3 separate regions of the Homo sapiens genome follow, and all the other regions are linked to region 3. The links are contacts of gene promoters, found by promoter capture Hi-C in human tissues and cell types (Jung and others, 2019). All regions are on one chromosome and are shown on one strand. Each heading gives the region's core, a stretch centred on a gene start or on the middle of the fragment in contact. The rest is flanking DNA. Distances are from core to core; before and after follow the strand shown.

Region 1 (3,835 bases), core at 1,161-3,660, 35 kb before region 3:
TCCCAGTGACTCTCTAATACAGAGGTCATAGAAGCTGCCATCATCCTAAATTACAGCCCATTTTAGAGGTTGGCTGTAATCCAAGAGGTTGCATTATTCCAAACTGCCTGTCAAAAACTGTCAAAACACTGCCATTTTCCAAAAGTAGTCCTTTTAAATAATTTTCTCACTCTTTTCCCTGAAACTTTACTGGCATTGAGCTTTAATATCATAGCTTATAGGCATAGTAAGTGAAAGCCTTTCAAATGAGAAATGGCAAAAAAAAAAAAATACCCATATTCTAGGCATATAACAACATACAAAATTCTAGGTGGAAAATTGAGTCAAATTTGCAGATGCTTTCTGCCCCCAAAGCAATAGCCATTGCTAATCTACATGTGAAATGGTAACCAAAGAATAAAGAAAATATGAGTCCTAGCAGTATTACTGATTTTTCACATTTAGCATGTGGAAAGAATTCTATAGTTCCTAGAGTCCATATTTTTTCTTTTTGTTCTTTCCTTCTATACCAAATTTCTAATGAAAGATGTTTTATCTCACAGTTTACTGATGTCTATTTTCTTCATTTTATAAATGAAGAAATTGACACCTGGACAGCCGCCTGCATGATTTCCCCAAGGCTTCATGGTGAATCTGAACCTAAATCCTTCACTCTTTTTCCCCAGCTTTATTGGCATATATTAGACAAATAAAAATTGTATATATTTAAGGTGAATTATGTTCACATTTGATAATGTGATGTGATTACCACAATCAAGCTTATTGACATATCCATCACTTTCCATAGGCACCTTTTGCATATGTGTGGTCTGAACACTTAAGATCTACCCTCAAAGCAAATATTAAGTATGTAATACAGTGTTATTAACTATAGTCACTATGCTGCACATTAGATCTCCCGAATTTATTCATCCTGCACAACTGAAATTGTGTACCCTTTGACTATCATCTTCCATTTCTGAAATGCCCAGCCAACTGGCAACTACCATTCTATTGTGTTTTTATGATTTTGACTTTTTTAGATTCCATATATAAGTAAGATCATGTGTTATTTGTTTTTCTACCTTTGGCTTATTTCACTTAACATAATGTCCTTCAGATTCGTGCATATTGACACAAATGGTAAGATTTCCTCCTTTTTAAGACTGAATAATATTCCATTTGTGTATATTCTTTACCCATTCATCCGTTGATGGACACTTAGGTTGTTTTCATGTCTTGAATATTGTGAATAATACTGCAAAGAACATATTGTAAATCGGTACAGACATTATGGAAAACAGCATGGATGGATCCTCAAAAAATTAAAAATAGGACTACCATATGATCCAGCAATTCCACTTCTGGGTATATATCCAAAGGAAATGAGATCAGTATCTTCCAGCAATACTTGCACTCCTTGTACTCTTTTTAATATGCATTCCAGCTCTCTTTTTGACTTGGAAATTCATCTCCTTTATCTTATCTTTTTTACATCAGACTTAACTCCAGAATTTTATGCTACCTGGATTAGAAACACCTCCCTCAAAAAGAGAAATTCCTGCCACCTACATTTTCTCAAATATAGACCTTGAATTTAAAACTTCAGTTCTACAAAGAATTTCAGCAACCACTCCACTTAAGACAATTTATCTTCCAAACAGTATAAGATAACAAAATGTTATAAAGAGGCTGCTCTTATTTTGAGGCATTACAATTCAAACAACAAATTAGGAAATCAACAGGATCATTCAGTCCTACAATCACTGTGACAGTTGTATTTGTCAACAACTAGTTTTCAGAAGAAATAGAACTCAAAGAAAATGCATATCTTCCAAATTCCAACAAAGAGATATGTAGAAATACTTTTTAAGACTATCAATAGTTTATTTATAATGAAAAATTAATTCACAGGTGAAGTCTTTTCACAGAAAGACAATGCTTTGAACAAATGTAGCATAAAGATGTTTCAAAATAGAACTGCAGCATCTGAAGATACTAATAATATATGTAATGTTGCTTGATGTCATTAGCAAGCAACTCAAACTCTTCAGCTACCGTAAAATACAAACCACAATCAGCACATTCTCAGGAGCAGTAGATCTGTCTGACCTGACTTCTGCTCTGCAGTTAACAATTTTGTTTTAATTCATAAAAAAGAAATTCTTATCACCTCTAAATTGTGCAACTGGGTTCCCAAAAGATCACACTTAAGTCCAATTTCCACGTTCCATGTTGTTCTATGTCTACATCAATCTCTACGGCTTGGAAAATGTTAAATCACTGACAAGCCATAATTAACTCGTTATCAGTGAAGACAACCCCACGATCTTCCAGTGAAGGATGTAAAATTCTAAGAAATCCCCTTCCCAAAGAGTATTTTATTGAATAACTGTGGTTCTTTACCACCCTGTTATGAAAAATGTGCCAGGCTAAAATATCTGAACTTCAGAAAAATTACATAAAGAAAGATTTTCCTAGATGTGGCTTAAAGAACGCCTAATATTCCTCAAGATTTTCATATTTTCTTTAAAAACAAAAACAGTGATTCCGTGTGAAAACAAGTTGGGAAACTGCATTCTTTAGTCCCCCTGGGGACTCACAAAGCACATTGGTTTATTAAAGGTTCTGAGACATCCTGCAATAAAGAAACCTGATTCATTCCATTTAATACGATCTTCCCAAATTTATTTGGCCACAAAGCCCTTTATTTCATGAAGCATCCTTAACCATGTTTGGATCAATGATGTTCTGCAAAATACGATTTGTTTTTCAAACCCTGGTCTGGATTTCTGTTTAGGCTGCTACTGAGGCCTTGGTCACAGGCCATTTAGCTTCCCTCTGGCCAAAAGTTCCAAAATGTGGGATTCAGGTCTAGGCTAGCATTCTGCTAAACTGTTGGCCATCATAGGGGCAGACCATGAGTGCGTGTCACTATTTTACAAATCAGGAAACTGAAGTTCTAATTTGCTCAAACGCAGAAGTGACAGAACTGGCTCTAGACTCAAAAGCCCCCACTTTATAATGGGCCTTTTCTGAAATGAGAAGCCTAAAAATATATAGCATCTTTGTCCATTTAGAAAAATTCCCTCAATTTCACGATTTTAAGGAAGATGAGAACTCAGTGTAATCATAGCCAAAGACTATTGTAATGTCACATGGAAAATTGACCTAAGAAACCAGTATTTAACTATGAATAGAAATCACGGGTTTTACCCATTGTGCATAGTCATCCTTACTTGATTTTGTAAAATTGAACATATCTTTTATGATTTTCCAGCCAAATATTTTTCCTCAAATTTCATTGTGAATACAAATCATAATGTGACTCATTCTATTATTCCAACTTCATGCTGCTCTTTTTCTAAACTATAACTTCCTTTATGCTTAATGTTCATTTGGAATGATAGATAAATAGAAGGATCCATATTTTGCAACCATTCAGATGTTTCAGTAACTCATAGTCAACACATCCCTTTAGTGTACATATCCAGCAAAGAGTGAATTTAAATGGCAGGTATGTGAACAAAGTCATGGGGAATTCTGCCCACAGTGTATACAGTCCTAAGTGCTTCCTTCCAAGTATTTATTTTAATTTTATATCTCTAATCATGCATACCTTATTCCTTGTACAGTAAATGAGATAAATTATGAATATTTTGGAAGAATTTGCTATAAAAATAAGGTACGAGAACGTTTATTTACTAGGCAGCTTACGGAAAATTGTCATGACTCCTGTTTCTACCTAAATTCATATGTTAGCTCATTTGTAATAAATAAATTCCAAGTCAAAAGCCCAATGGGCAAATATAGTTTAAGGACATGCAACACTGAATTATGTACTTACTTCTTATGT
Region 2 (4,239 bases), core at 463-2,962, 52 kb after region 3:
TTAGTTTGTATTATTTTTATTACAGTATTATTAATTTTACTTTTTATTTTTTCAAATATTTTCAATCCGTGGTTGGTTGAATCTGTGGATGCAAAACTTGTGGATATGGAGGTCTGACTGTATATTTTATTCATCAGGACAAGCACAGTTGCCAGCATGCCAAAGAATTTGGTTGATCTTGATGATATCCTGCAACTTGATTTCTTATAAATCTCTGTCTAATTGCCTGCTTCTGTGAAGTGCCTTCTATGTGTCAGGCGCTGTGTGAAGTCTTTATTAGCTTGATTTCCTGTAATCTTCACAACAGCCCCATATCACTGTTGCCCCACTCAATCAAACGGAGATGTTGAGGCTTAGAGCAGAAAGATTGCTTTCCCAGTGGCAGAGCCAGGATCAAAATGCAATCCATGACTGGGAACGGTGGTTCACGCCTGTAATCCCAGCACTTTGGGAGCCTGAAGGGGGCGGATCACCTGAGGTCAGGAGTTCCTGACCAGCCTGGCCAGCATGGCAAAATCCCCTCTCTACTAAAAATACAAAAATTAGCCAGGTGTGGTGGCGGGCACCTGTAATCTCAGCTACTTTGGAGGCTGAGGCAGGAGAATAGCTTGAACCTAGAAGACGGAGGTTGCAGTGAGCCGAGATCACGCTGCTGCACTCCAGCCTGGGCGACAGGGCAAGACTTTATCTCCAAAATAAATAAATAAATAAATAAAGAAGAAAAGAAAGCCCTCTGGCTGCTGCACCCATATGTGCATTGCCTGCACTGCATTACCTCCCACCTGGCTCTTTCCCCTTCTACCGCCTCTCATACCATCCTTTTCATAAACCCAAGTAGGATGGCCCTGGATCAGGGCAGCTGCATAGATCTTTGCAGCTCAGTCATATTTCCTTGTATTGTATTGTTCTCCCCTTCCTTACTCTCTTCTTGGAATTCTCATTTTTTAATCCAGCAGGACGTCCTTTCCCCATGTCCTTACCTTACCTTAACAATTGCCATAAACCTATTGAAACAGTTGCAATATTTTAGAAAGAGAATTTGTAAAGTTTTAAAAAAGTTAATGTGTATCTAGGCAGTCTCTGCAATTGGACCCAAAATCCACAGATAGAAAAGTTACAGAAAAAAATGTGGCTGGGGATCTAGAAACATGGGGATTATTATATTAAAAGTATTATGAACACAGACCAGGTGCGGTGATTCACGCCTGTAATCCCAGCACTTTGAGAGGCCAGGGTGGGCAGATCACCTGAGGTCAGGAGTTTGAGACCAGCCTGGCCAACACAGTGAAACCACATCTCTGCTAAAATCACAAAAATTAGCTGGCCGTGGTGGCACCTGCCTGTAATGCCAGCTACTTGGGAGGCTGAGACATGAGAATTGCTTGAACCTGGGAGAGAGAGGTTGCAGTGAGCCGAGATCGCACCCCTGCACTCCAGCCTAGGCAACAGAGTGAGACTCTGTCTTTAAAAAAAGGTAGTATGAACGTGAATTCTCTTCTCTCTCTGGGGTGTCTTAGAAGGGACGAGGCATATTTATTTGTTCCTTCTTCCTTCCACACGTCTATCAATGGTGTATTCATTGAGAGACAGTGTAGCAAAGTGGTTAAGAGTTTGGATTCTGAAGCCAGACTGCTTGGGTTGAATTCCAGCTCACTTGCTTCCCTTTGACCTTTGGCAGCTTTAGTTAACCTTTGTGGGCCTGTGTTTCTTTATCTGTAAAATGAAGATAATGAGAATAGCTACCTTTTAGGGTGACTGAGAGGATTCAGGCAGTCTATGTAAAGTATTTAAAATAGTGCCTGATGTACAGAAAACTCTGAAAGCATATTAGTTATTATTAATATTAATAAGTATCTTTTATGCTCTAATATTCTGCCCTGGGCTTTGGGACTACAGTGGACAGAATGTCCCTGACATCATGGTCCTTTCAGCTTAGTTAGAGAGAAAGAGAGAGAAAGAAAATAACAGGTGTATGTTAGGGCACCAAGGAGATGTACAGTTGATTTGGGAGCATATAGCAGGGAGTTCTAATGAAAGGTCCTGGTAGTGTTCATTATAGTTTTAGAACTGGAAAAGATTGCAGCTATTTTCTTGTCAATCGCTCCTTTGAAACCCAAAGTGCTTAAATGATTTGTTTAAGTTCCTTCAGGTGATTTATAGCAGAGCCAGGCCAGAACCTGTACCTCCTAAAACTGAGGTCAAGCTAGAGTGTATTACATCATCAAAGCTCCTCCTAGAAGCCTTGGGCCCATTTCATGATGATCAACAATGCTTGATTTTAGAACAGCTTCTTAGAATTCAAGCTTGAATTGTCTCTGACTCCTGGGAGCTGTCCTGATGGTTATTTGTGGCAAGCATCAAGTAATGATCATTATCATTGTCTTCTGTTTACTTTGAAGTTGTCCATCCTGATAATGATCACCTGGTAAAGAGAGAGATTTATTCTGCTGGACATTTGTAAACATCCAGTTTGAATTTTGGAAACTGGGTAACCAACCTGATTAAAACCTGGATCACACAGAGCTGGCTGAGGAATACATGTGTGATAAAATGTATCATTTGACTTGGAAATGGAGATGAAAAAGCATCTTTCAGGAAGTGTATGTTGGGTGGGTGCGTTGGGGGATTAAAACTTGATTCAAAAAGGTAATAGAAACTTAAAGATTTCAGATGGCTTATAATTTATCTGTAATGGGAAAAATACTTTAAAACTGAGATAATATCTTGGAATAAATTTGAAATCACAGGCTGTATTATGGATGTGTTTGTGGATGTATGTGAATTGCAAAGAATGAAATTTTTTTGTGAATGTAATTTAGCATGCATAAGATTACAAATAAGCTATGTGCAGTAAGAGTCCATTTGATACAATGTGTGTAATTTTAAACTTAAAAACATCGTGCTTTAGAACTGGAAGGGACCTTAGAGATCATCTAGTAGAAATCATTTTGCAAATGGAAGAACGGAATCCCAGGGAAGGTGAATGGCTTTGCCTGCACTGCAAACTAGAATCCAGATGTTTAGACAACTGTGTTTGGAGACTTTTTAAAATGTAAAGCTTGATATCCAGGGGCTCACTTTTAGTATTTTACCAGTAGTAGTGTTACGTCATTGCTAATCACAGCTATAACGTAATTTCTTCTGGAAGATGGACCATCTCTTCAGCCCTTTGCATATATGGATGCTTAATACAAATACTTTTTGTGACTCCTAATTAATACTCCAATTAATATCCAATGATAGAAGTTTAGGAAAATTAAAGCAATGTTACTTGTCAGCTTCTTTTGTTTAGGCTCTTAATGTGGCTTCTTCTGATTTCTCAGCTGATTCAAAAGAATTCCGAGAAGGTCATGTATGCGGCTCTTTTCAAAGGAAAACACTGGTTGCTAGAGGGATCGATTTTAATATAGTTTCATATCATAGAGATTTTAATAATGCAATCTAAAATATTTGTACATGAATTCATTAAGCCCAGATTAGTCTTATTATAATTACTCAAAAAGTAATTCAATTTAAGAGAAAACATTTTAAATGGATATAAAATACACTGTGAGCTGGGAAGCCATACTGTTCTACTTTATCAGCTCTATAAAGTACTAGCAGACTCGGACATAACTTTCATAGTATACAGAATGCAATCATAAAAAGTATTATTCCTAAATCTATTTTTTTATGTTCTTTCAGTAGTTAAGAGCTTTATCCCTCTGTGCTAGGAATGAGATATACTAGGGATAGGATGTCATAAAAATGATAGGGGCTCACCAGCTCATGTCTCTTGCATTGCTTTTCCAAGTCAGCGCAGGCCGATGGGTTATAAGCACACAGCCCAAGATTGATGTTGGTAGCACATTCCCTAGTAAATGTAGCAGGAAGATTCTTTGAGGCTTTTTTTTTTATTTTTTTCTTATCCACAAATAAAAGACATTTAGTGAGCACTGTGTGCCTTCAGAGGTACAACAGTGACAGGCAAAGTATTGGTCTTCATTTCTAATATGATAAAAGGTGAAGGGAGGCCAGCAGCAATGAAAACGAGAGAACTTTCTCCGGCCTACATCCAAACCCAGGTAGAGAAGAAAAGGCAGAGTGAGATAAAAGATCTTGCAGCATTAAAGAGCGGTTGTCATTTTTGGCTTAGAAGGCTGGAGATGCGGAGTGAGGCCTTCCGGTTAGTCCTTAAAGCTATTACCAAGGCTCACCGGGGCTCTGTTCAGTTTGAGCAACCTTATTGTGCCTGGAGGA
Region 3 (3,818 bases), core at 1,276-3,775:
TGCTCTGATAAACTCATCAAAAGTTGAGAACATCATAGGTTGAAAATGCATTTAATACACTTAAACTACCAAGCATCACAGCCTAGCCTAGCCTACCTTAAACATGCTCAAAACACTTACATTAGCCGGCAGTTGGGGAAAATTATCTAACACAAAGCTATTTTATAGTAAAGTGTTGACTATCTCATGAAACTTATTCAATACTAACCTGACAGTGAAAAATAGAATGATTGTATGGTCCATAGTCAAAATACAGTTTCTACTGAATGTATATGGCTTTTGCACCATGGTAAAGTCTAAAAATATAAGTAGAAGCATCATAAGTTGGAGATCATCTGTATTTTAAAAAGAAGTCCCATATTCTACACTGGGAGAGCTTTTAGTTCACCCTTCCCCCACCCTGTTAAAATTTGATTCAAAAGAATTCCGTGGAATATATAGGGTAACATGAAGTCATTTCTAAACAAAGAACATTTACAAAAGATGTGGATGATGTCTTAAACCTCATTGTAATCCAACTATCCCAAGTAATCAGCACCGGTAAGCACTAGTCCCTCTATTGAAAATTGAAATTCCAATTACTGATTTTCCAAAAGAAGACATTCTCCTCCACTTACGAAATGGAACAATGAAAGAGGATTTTCTGTTTGGGGTGACCGGGGAGAAACGGAGTCTTCACACAAAGTCTTAGTTCATATTCAGCCCTCCTTTCCTTGAAACCACATCCCCAGGATTTATCTGGCTTGTTTGTGAAAATATGGGAAAACATTTTAAGTCGAAGAAACTGATCAGATGACTTAATTACATTTCTGCTTAGTTCAGCCTGTAACTTAGACTGTTAGAGAGAGAGAACTTAAGTAGCCCTTGGTTTGAACCATCTGTCGCGAAAATGTGACATATGTTTGCTTTGTTTACTCAACAACCAAGTGTAAACTGATACACTGAACTAGAGTATCCCTGAATGATGTGGCTATGGGTGTGTGTGTGTTGGAGGAGGGGTGTCTGATGAGGGCGTCCGTCTCCTCATACTTACCCTGGAGGAACACGCGTACAGCACAAGAGAAGTGCGGATCCGTAGGATGTCCCCCGGGTTTGGGGCGCGCCCCGAGGCGCAGACCCTCTTTGGCGACTCCACACAATATGCAGCCCGCCTGCAAGCAGCCGCTGCAGCCGAGGGGCGCGCCTGGCTGATGTGTGGTTGAATGGAGAGCGGCCCAACCCTCCTCCTTCCTCCTCTTCTTCTCCCCGCCCTGACACCCGGGCCTCAAACTTCAACCAAAGCCCGTGCCCTTTTCAATTTACCCCCCTCGATCAAAATGAGCCATTCTTGTCTGTCCTCCGCGGCGGCCCATTGTCTGGCGTGATAGGTTTGCAGATTTGACAGCTGGGCGCACGCAGATTTGATTCAAACTCGGTCTCCCCGAGAGATGAACTTGGACATCAGCAAAGATCCCGAGCACTGCCGGCTGGCTCCTAGACCGGTCTCCCGACCCAGTGTAGACTTCGGTGCCCCGGGCGCCCCCCGGCGTGCGGGAAGGGGAGCGTGTGTCAGGCGTGGGGGGCGGGGGGTGAGCAGCACGACTGGGAACCAGCGGTCCCAGGGGTTGGGGCGAAGGGCTGTGTACATGTTAGGCTTTTTTTGTTGTTGTTAATTTACTCTCGAAACAGCCAAAATGGAGGTCAGCTTATAAATTTTCTAAAGCCAGGTCTGGCCGGGTTTAAATGCAGTGGGCTGGGGGCTCCGCTTTTGTCTCCTTGTCGGAGCTCCAGGAGAGAGGTAGAGACTGCGTGTGCATGTGTGCGTGTGAGTGTGAGTGTGCACGCGCTGGCGTGGACGAACGGATGGGCGCATCCCAGGATCGCCGCTCCAGCGTCCTGGGTCTGAGTGTGTCTTGAAAGCACCAAGTCTTGAATCACAGCCACTAGTGACGTGGGGGAAAACTTTGTGTTCCGAAGAAGGGTCTGGCTCGATTGCCCTAAGAAGAAAGAGCCCTTGTGCCCGTGTATGTGTGTGTGTGTGTCTGTGTGTGTGTGTGAGAGAGAGAGAGAGAGAGAGAGACAGAGAGAGAGAGAGAGAGAGAGAGTGTGTGTGTCTGGCAGCACCCGCGGCCGGCTGCAGAACACTGCGTGTCCTGTGCGCGAGTACGGGTCCGGCCGCGGGTCCCACCGCAAGCGGGCGTGTGCAGCTGCGGCTGCCTGGCGGGCGAGCTTAGGAGGGAGCTGGAGCTGCGGAGCGGCGGGAACAGGAGCAGGCCGAGGGTCCTCTGGCCAGAAGAAATCTGGCCTCGGAACACGCCATTCTCCGCGCCGCTTCCAATAACCACTAACATCCCTAACGAGCATCCGAGCCGAGGGCTCTGCTCGGAAATCGTCCTGGCCCAACTCGGCCCTTCGAGCTCTCGAAGATTACCGCATCTATTTTTTTTTCTTTTTTTTCTTTTCCTAGCGCAGATAAAGTGAGCCCGGAAAGGGAAGGAGGGGGCGGGGACACCATTGCCCTGAAAGAATAAATAAGTAAATAAACAAACTGGCTCCTCGCCGCAGCTGGACGCGGTCGGTTGAGTCCAGGTTGGTGGCATTTGGAGTTTTTTTCGTTCTGTTTGGGAACCCATTGCCGCTTCCCGTCCCTCTTCCCCACTCCTTCTTCCCCCCTCCTCCGGCCACCCCTTTCTTTTTGCTGGCGTCTCCCAACTTTAGGGCCCGGGGGGCGCTCGTGGCGCCGGGCTGCACCTGCCGGGGCACGCCGGGACTGCGGGCCGGCGCGCTCGCCCTGGGCTGGGGTGCGGAAGCGCCCGAGTCCTGGGCACCGGGCGAGAGTGTGAGAGGAGCGGACGCCCAGGAGGGAGCCGAGGACGCGCGGCGGGTAGGGGGTAGGGGCGCAGGAACCGGGTTTCAGCCCCAGTCGGGACATCGGTTCCCCCTGGCTTGGCGGCCTCTGGAGGGAGACGAGTCCCGGGGAGAAGGAGGGCGGCGACTGGGGCTAGGGATTGGCGATCGGAGTGGGGAGGGCCGGCGGCTGAGCGAGCTCGCTGGCTGACGCGAGGAGGGGGAGGCCAACTTCCCGGGAGAAGGGGCTCTTTCGGCGCCAGGGCTGGCTAGGGAGCTGCCGCCGCCGCCACCGAGGGCTCGGACTCCAGGCAGCTGCAGGCTCCGCTCGCGACGCTCGGAAAGTACCGTTTATTTATTTATTTGCTTGCGTTCAGCGTCTCGGGTTGAACCCAACAGACACCCCCTTGGACTTTAGGAACCCTCTTCAGACCTCTCCAGCCCTCACCTCCATCCCCGTGTCAGCGGCCCCTGGAAAACACGCACATGCACCCCGACCTGGGTGGGGGTGGGTCCTCACCCCGGTGTTGGAAATTCCCCAAAGGCGGGAACGGGGGAGGGGAGAGGGTTCTGTGGGGGGAGTCTCCGGCGCTCTCCGCTCTCATCTCAAAGCGCGCCCTCCCTTCCAGGTTGGGTCGGACCTGAACCCCTAAAAGCGGAACCGCCTCCCGCCCTCGCCATCCCGGAGCTGAGTCGCCGGCGGCGGTGGCTGCTGCCAGACCCGGAGTTTCCTCTTTCACTGGATGGAGCTGAACTTTGGGCGGCCAGAGCAGCACAGCTGTCCGGGGATCGCTGCACGCTGAGCTCCCTCGGCAAGACCCAGCGGCGGCTCGGGATTTTTTTGGGGGGGCGGGGACCAGCCCCGCGCCGGCACCATGTTCCTGGCGACCCTGTACTTCGCGCTGCCGCTCTTGGGTAAGTCGAGGCCCGCCGCGGGCTTTCTTACCCTCTGAGTCTTTCCTAGGGTCGCTTGCAGCAGCCCACCCCGCCCT

Evidence for each region. The method cuts DNA at HindIII sites, captures the fragments that hold promoters and counts their contacts. A contact is called where the count stands out against the background at its distance.
Region 1: a contact is called between a fragment that was not itself captured here and the fragment with the promoter of GFRA1 in region 3, in 2 of the 25 tissues and cell types used here (mesendoderm cells and spleen).
Region 2: a contact is called between a fragment that was not itself captured here and the fragment with the promoter of GFRA1 in region 3, in 3 of the 25 tissues and cell types used here (H1 embryonic stem cells, liver and neural progenitor cells).

Annotation. Positions count from the first base shown.
Region 1 is chr10:116,306,394-116,310,228 of GRCh38, reverse strand. No RefSeq gene overlaps it. Among named protein-coding and RNA genes, the nearest start is that of CCDC172, 16 kb to the left of the region's middle. The HindIII fragment of the contact is 4,206 bases long and covers 308-3,835 here.
Region 2 is chr10:116,218,669-116,222,907 of GRCh38, reverse strand. All of the region lies in intron 4 of GFRA1 (GDNF family receptor alpha 1), which reads left to right. Among named protein-coding and RNA genes, the nearest start is that of SNORD158, 26 kb to the right of the region's middle. The HindIII fragment of the contact is 5,209 bases long and covers 1-4,239 here.
Region 3 is chr10:116,271,913-116,275,730 of GRCh38, reverse strand. It overlaps GFRA1 (GDNF family receptor alpha 1), which reads left to right and starts at 2,525. Exons shown (of 11, transcript NM_005264.8): 1 at 2,525-2,568; 2 at 3,456-3,741. The coding sequence starts at 3,702. It overlaps LOC107984273 (a long non-coding RNA gene), which reads right to left and starts at 1,722. Exons shown (of 2, transcript XR_001747598.2): 1 at 1-1,722. RefSeq lists a silencer at 2,020-2,314 and an enhancer at 1,523-2,360. The HindIII fragment of the contact is 12,805 bases long and covers 1-3,818 here.